2 separate regions of the Homo sapiens genome follow, and region 2 is linked to region 1. Evidence: promoter capture Hi-C in 16 types of primary human blood cells and fetal thymus (Javierre and others, 2016). All regions are on one chromosome and are shown on one strand. Each heading gives the region's core, a stretch centred on a gene start or on the middle of the fragment in contact. The rest is flanking DNA. Distances are from core to core; before and after follow the strand shown.

Region 1 (3,435 bases), core at 1-2,500:
AGCCTGGGAGGAGCAAGGCTCCGTCTCAAAAAAAAAAAAAAAGAAAAGAAAAAAAAGAAAAAGAAAAACAGGGCGGGCGCGGTGGCTCATGCCTGTAATCCTAACACTTTGGGAGGCCAAGGCAGGTGGATTACCTGAGGTCAGGAGTTCAAGACCAGCCTGGCCAATACGGTGAAACCCCGCCTCTACTAAAAATACAAAAAATTAGCCAGGTGCAGTGTGGCATGTGCCTGTAATCCCAGCTACTCGGGAGGCTGAGGCAGGAGAATCACTTGAATCCGGGAGGCGGAGGTTGCGGTGAGCCGAGGTTACGCCACACCACTCCAGCCTGGGTGACAGGGCGAGATTACGTCTCAAAAACAAAAACAAAACAAAACAAAAAAAACAGTTGTTCAATAAATGAATGTGAATATAGGAGAAAGACGGCTTGAGGTAGCAAAGGAACACTCCCTTGCAAATGATTCAGGCTTGGTCAACAATACACCTATTGAGTACCCACCGTGTCCTTGGCCCGTGGTGAGGGCCGAAACACAGCACATGGTAAACAAAACAGGGCTCCAGCCTTGGACAGAAGGTTTCTATAATCACTTCTAGCTGCGTTGTTCTATTTCCATACCCATATCTATTCACTTTTTATGGTACATCTATTGATTCTGAAAATTACATTTTAGCTAAGGAATCTACTCATTTGCTTAAGCCCAAAATAGGAAGTTATGATCTAGTGTCAGCAAAACGCCGGATTCACAAGTGTCCCCATGGCGCTGTTTACCCCCAAATAACTAAACCCCGCCAAATGTTGAGATTCCGGACGTGAGGGGTGCTTGGATGGGGAACCCCCGAAAGAATGGACATCACGTCCACCAGAGGGTGCTGTGGGGGCAAATTTGTGCCAGGAGGGGAGCTCGACCGGTGACCCTCAGAGCCAGGTAGGCGTAAGGAGTAAATCTCCTTCTTCCCGGTGTTTCCTTCCCACCCCCTCGAACCATTGCTGCCCCTCCCCCATACTTGGTTCCCCCTGAATAATTTGCCACTTTCGGGGACTTAAGAAGTGTTTGCTTTTGAAAGACATCTGGTTTCTGTGGCTAACGCCCAGTGGTCAGGCCGCCCAGGTCACAGGCCGGCCGGGGGCGGGCGGTGGGTGGGGACTGCTGGGGCGTCAGCGGCCCAGGCGCCGCAGGGACCGCGAAAGGGTTAACCCGGCGGGGGGAGGGGGAGGGGGCGCGGGCCGCGCCTGCGCTCTGCCGCCCTCCATTGTCTCCACGGCGGCGAGGAGCGCCGGCGAGCGCAGCCCGGGACCGAGCGGGGCGGCGCGGCTGGCGGGGCCGGCGGCGGCTGAAGCGAGAGCGCGACGCGACGCGACCGCGGCTTCCCGAGCTGCGCCTGGCCGCCCAGCGCCGCGGCCCGCCCGAGGCCTGGAGGGGTCCGGGCCGCCGTCCATGGTCGCGGCGTCCTGAGGCGGGGGACGCGCCCGGCGCCCCCGGCCCTCCTCCGCCTCCTCCCGCGGGGCGGGCGGCCTCCTCCGGCGCCTCCCCGCGCCCGCCCGCCGCTCGCCGCCGCCTCCCTCCCTCCTTCCCTGCGGCTCCCCCGGCTTTCGGAGCCCGGGGGCGGCCTGTGGCGCGCGGAGCCCGCGCCGGACTGCGCCTCTTTGGACCTTGAGGGGAAACATGCGTTTGCCTTGGATCGTTTGAAATTCTGAGTTTGGGATCCCCGCCCGCCCGCCTGCCTCTTCCGCCCCGCGGGTTTTTTCCTTTTTTCCTTTTGCTTTTTTTCCTTTTCTCCCTCCGGGTCTCCTTTTTGACTCCCTCCCCCTTTATGCTCGCCCAGCCCTCCCCCTGCTGCTGAGAAGTGGGGGAGGGTCTCGGCCTCCAGGTTCCCGCCCCACCGGGGCCCGGGCGAGCATGGGGGGCAAGCAGAGCACGGCGGCCCGCTCCCGGGGCCCCTTCCCGGGGGTCTCCACCGATGACAGCGCCGTGCCGCCGCCGGGAGGGGCGCCCCATTTCGGGCACTACCGGACGGGCGGCGGGGCCATGGGGCTGCGCAGCCGCTCGGTCAGCTCGGTGGCAGGCATGGGCATGGACCCCAGCACGGCCGGGGGGGTGCCCTTTGGCCTCTACACCCCCGCCTCCCGGGGCACCGGCGACTCCGAGAGGGCGCCCGGCGGCGGAGGGTCTGCGTCCGACTCCACCTATGCCCATGGCAATGGTTACCAGGAGACGGGCGGCGGTCACCATAGAGACGGGATGCTGTACCTGGGCTCCCGAGCCTCGCTGGCGGATGCTCTACCTCTGCACATCGCACCCAGGTGGTTCAGCTCGCATAGTGGTGAGTCCGCGGGTGGTGGAGGCCTCGGAGGGAGGGCGCGCCGGGGCGCCCCAAGCCTTCGCGTGCGTGCCAAGGTTTGGGAATGTAGTGCACGACCGGGATCTGTCTGCATTCCCTTTGGTTCCCGATGCCAAGGGATAAATGGGATACCTACCGTCTGGAAACTAGGCTTTCTGCGAGGCTGCGGAGCCTGGCGATTTAGGGACTCACGGCGTGTGTTCACTTGTGGAAGGGCAGAGCGAAGCCTACCTATTGGAGTTCCATTTATTGGCATCACCCTCCTCAGAGAAGAGGTCGTGTCTGGCTGAGAGCAAGTCAGCCTGGGTACTTCCATTCTGCCACTGCAGCACTGTGCCTGCCTCACCGGTAACGGAGAGATGGAGCCAGTTGGAGCAAGCAGTGTCTCCTAAACAGAGTGTGTGAAAATGAAATAAAATCAGGGGCAAGTGATGCCTGGATTAGGGCTCTCACTCTTGCTGGGAGAGAGAGGTGCCCAGTTTTGCCACCCTGCTGGAGATCTGTTTGAAATGTTTAAAATGGAGCAGCCGGCAGGCGGCTGGCATAGACAGGTGTGGCTGCTGTACGGAGGGCCCAGCCGGCGAGTCTCGCGGGGGCTTTGCAGGACCCGGGCTGTGGTCACCCGTACTGCATGCAGCAGGCTTGGCTCCGCGACTCTCGCCTCCCTCCATCTTTTTTTCTTCTGCTCCATGCTAAGTGCTTGGTCTTCCCGTGAATCTGCATCTTTTTGTAACAGGGAGCCTGTCACGGTGGGGCATTATTGCCTGGCTGTTGGCACATGACTGGGGAAAAGGAGGATTCAGAGAATCTGGATGAATTCATTTTATGAACTTCTGGTGACAGGCCAGCAAAAGGTTGGAGGGGGATTTCCCAGGCTCCTAGCGGGAGGGCAAAAAAGGCCTGGCAGGAGGAAAACAGGTCTGTCTGCTAGGTCAGGCATCTAGAAAATTGGCCAAAAGGGATGTGGGGGCCGCTATTTGCTAATTGGCAAGTTGAGTGATGAAGTTACATCTTAAGATTCTTTTGGGTGAGTTGGGAAAATTTAGATAGTGTAGGGGAAAGATTGCTCCTGCCTTTAGGGTACTTTATGGAGGG
Region 2 (3,435 bases), core at 426-2,925, 650 kb after region 1:
AGATAATAAATATGTGTGTTGGAATTGTTTTGTATTTATTTGATGAATTGAGATAGCTTCCATTATACAAAATAGAACAAAAGCTCCCCAAGTTATTTATTTTTTTTAACTAAATCAGAGCAAGGAGATGTTATACTTTATCTATAAGATTGGCAAAAGTCAATACAATGGGTAATATCCAAAGTTAGTGTATGGGAAAACAAGTATACTCCTACGTTGTTAATAGAAATTGATACAATTTCTTTGGGGGGCATTTTGACAATATCTGATGACATTTATAACGTATATTCCCTTAAACATGGCAGTTTTGTTCTAGGAATTTATCCCGTAGATATACTCAGAGTACAAATGGGTACATACTGAAAAGGCAGTCTCCCTATTTACATACCCTTTTCCCTGGGTCCTTTCCTAGGGGCAGCCTCTATTACCGTCTCTTGTCTGTTGCATGTCCCCTTTGCTCATAGTAATACTAGCACACTAGACATCAACTTAATCTGTGGTTTACTTTTTTTAAACTTAATTATTTATCTTGAAGTGTTTGTGTGTCTGCACAAAGCTTTTCCTCATTCTTTTCTAATTGATTGCACTGTATTTCATTATGTGAATGAACAGTAATTTACTTTTTATTATGGAGAATTCCAAGCATTTACAAATACAGAATAGTATAATGAACTATACTGCATATACCCATCACCCACCTTCACCTGATTTTAGTTCATGGCATTTTTTAAATCTATACTTTTCATCCCAACTTCCTGGACTGTTTTGAAGCAAATGCCAGACATCATATCATTTTATCTATTTTAGCATGTATCTCTCAAAGATAAGCCTCTTTTAGTTACTATTTAAGAATTTTATTAAATACATACAGTAAAATTAACTTTTTATGGTGTAAAATTATATGCATTTTAAAAACTTTATTTTTTATTGTGGTAAAATGTATATACCGTAAAATTTACAGTTCAGATAGTTTTTTAAGTGTTCTGTTCAGTGGCATTATTAAGTGCATTCACATTGTTGGGCAACTGTCACCACCATCTGTATCTAGAACTTACTCATTTTCTAAAACTGAAACTCCATGCCTTTTATTATTTTCTGCTTCTAGGGGTCAGAAACATGCCTATTAAACACTAATTCCCCATTTCTCCCTCCTCTTAGCCCCTGGAAACAACCATTCCGCCTTCTGTTTCTATGAATTCAATATTTCTAGATACCTCATACAAGTAGAATCATGTAATATTTGCCCTTTTGTGTCTGGCTTATTTCACTTTACATAATATCTTCAAAGTTCATCCATATTGTAGCATGTGTCAGAATTTGATTCCTTTTTAAAGGTGAATAATATTCCATTGTATGTATATACTACATTTTGTTTTTCCATTAATGTATCAATTGACATTTGGCTTATTTCCATCTTTTGTTTATTTTGAATAATGCTGCTGTGAACATGGGTATAACTAGTATCTGTTTGAGACCCTGCTTTCCATTATTTTAGGTATATGCCTAGAAATGCAATTGCTGGATCATATGGTAATTTTATGTTTAATTTTTTCTTTTTCCTTGTGGGTTGTCATCATGAAATTATATTGAATTTTTTGAGGAACTGCTGTACTCTTTTCCAGTTATATGTGTTTTAACATAGGTAAATTTTTGTAACCAGCACCCACATTGGGATTTAGAACAATTCCATCACGAAAAACTCCCTCTTGCTGCCCCTTTGTAGTATGTTTTAGTAAGTAGAAAAGGAGCAGAGTTAAATCTTCAGAGAACAAAATGTAAAGGAAAGGAACAGGATGTTTAAATTTAGGAGGCCCTCCTTTTTGTAGATGGTATATTGGTGGATTGTGGTACGTGGCCCAGATCTGCCTTTGGCTGCTAGGAGAGCTGCCTTGCCCAAACTCCTGTCTTCTTAGGGCTGCCACCATCCAGTGACTGATATTTGCAGAGTTACAAAGTCTGCTCCTTGGCCCCAGCTTGGTCAGTTCTGAAGGGCCTTCCTAGCTCCAGAGTTGCCCATGGTTTTGGCTGAGGTCTTGTTGAAACTCTTTGATAAGTCAGCTTCTCTCTCTGCCCACTCCTGCTCTTCCACAAAGGTTTTCCCAAAATCACTTCCCAATTCTTTAAATTTCCATCTCCATCTCAGAATTTGCTTCCCAAGGAACCCAATTTATGACACATTTTTATTAATTTGCAAAGTCTGTAACTACAAAGCAAAAAATGAATTAAACTTGAGCATTTTTATATGTCAGAGTTTAAGAATGTATCATTGTTTGGATAGTACATCTTTTCAGAAGCAAGCATAGAAATGGGTGAATGAGCACGTCCTAGGCTTTTTTTACCCTTCTGAATCAAGAACAGATGTCTTCTGATAGTAAAAAAAAAAAAAAAAAAAAAAAAAGTGCAGGCTCACTCCTGGCCCAGAGCTCACACAGCAAATATATTTTTGGTTTATGTAAAAGAGGCTATTGCTAATCTGTGCTGTTCTTCTCTTTAACAGAACCACAGAATAAGAGAACTCCAGATTTGCCTGAAGAAGAGTATGTGAAGGAAGAAATCCAGGAGAATGAAGAAGCAGTCAAAAAGATGCTTGTGGAAGCCACCCGGGAGTTTGAGGAGGTTGTGGTATGTTAACTAGATTTACTCATTATTTTTTTCCCTACCTTCATTCTTCTTTGAAACTGGTTATCCTGTACACCTTTTTCATCTACCTGGGGCTCAGGAAAGTGAGAGAGGAGTTCAAGATGGAAAGGGAAAATGGAAAATGGGACTGATCTGGGCTTCAGACATGTTGCCCTGAAGCTTTTGCTTCACAAAGCTTTTAGTTTTTGGCAGGACAAGTTGAGGGGGAAAGGGAGAAAAATTGGGTAGAATAGGGACAGTTGTATAAACAGTATAAAGCATCCCACTTTGAGTACTTTAATGTCAATATATTTTTCAAAAAGTTTATAGTAATTGTTTTTTCTATTTTTTTGAGCCAGAGTCTGGCTCTGTCGCCCAGGCTGGAGTGCAGTGGTGCGATCTTGGCTCACTGCAAGCTCCGCCTCCTGGGTTCACACCATTCTCCTGCCTCAGCCTCCCGAGTAGCTGGGACTACAGGCGCCCACCACCATGCCTGGCTAATTATTTGTATTTTTAGTAGAGACGGGGTTTCACTGTGTTAGCCAGGATGGCCTCGATCTCCTGACCTCGTGATCCGCCCGCCTTGGCCTCCCAAAGTGCTGGGATTACAGGCGTGAGCCACCGCTTTTTGTATTTTTTTGAGGTGGAGTCTCACTCTGTCACCCAGGCTGGAGTGCAGTGGTGCCATCTCAGCTCACTGTAGCCTCCACCTCCCAGGTTCCAGCAATTCTTCTGCCTCAGCCTCCTGGGTAACTGGGATTACAGGCATGTGCCATCATGCCCAGCTACTTATAGTAATTTTTTTTATCAAGCAAA

Evidence for each region. The method cuts DNA at HindIII sites, captures the fragments that hold promoters and counts their contacts. A CHiCAGO score of 5 or more calls a contact.
Region 2: a contact is called between a fragment that was not itself captured here and the fragment with the promoter of ZNRF1 in region 1, in 2 of 17 cell types (neutrophils and naive CD8 T cells). The highest score is 6.2, in neutrophils.

What each region holds. Positions count from the first base shown.
Region 1 is chr16:74,997,774-75,001,208 of GRCh38, forward strand. It overlaps ZNRF1 (zinc and ring finger 1), which reads left to right and starts at 1,251. Exons shown (of 5, transcript NM_032268.5): 1 at 1,251-2,322. The coding sequence starts at 1,899. RefSeq lists silencers at 1,043-1,562, 1,963-2,272 and an enhancer at 3,063-3,122. The HindIII fragment of the contact is 6,289 bases long and covers 1-3,435 here.
Region 2 is chr16:75,651,776-75,655,210 of GRCh38, forward strand. It overlaps TERF2IP (TERF2 interacting protein), which reads left to right. Exons shown (of 3, transcript NM_018975.4): 2 at 2,498-2,622. Among named protein-coding and RNA genes, the nearest start is that of TERF2IP, 5.7 kb to the left of the region's middle. The HindIII fragment of the contact is 2,243 bases long and covers 555-2,797 here.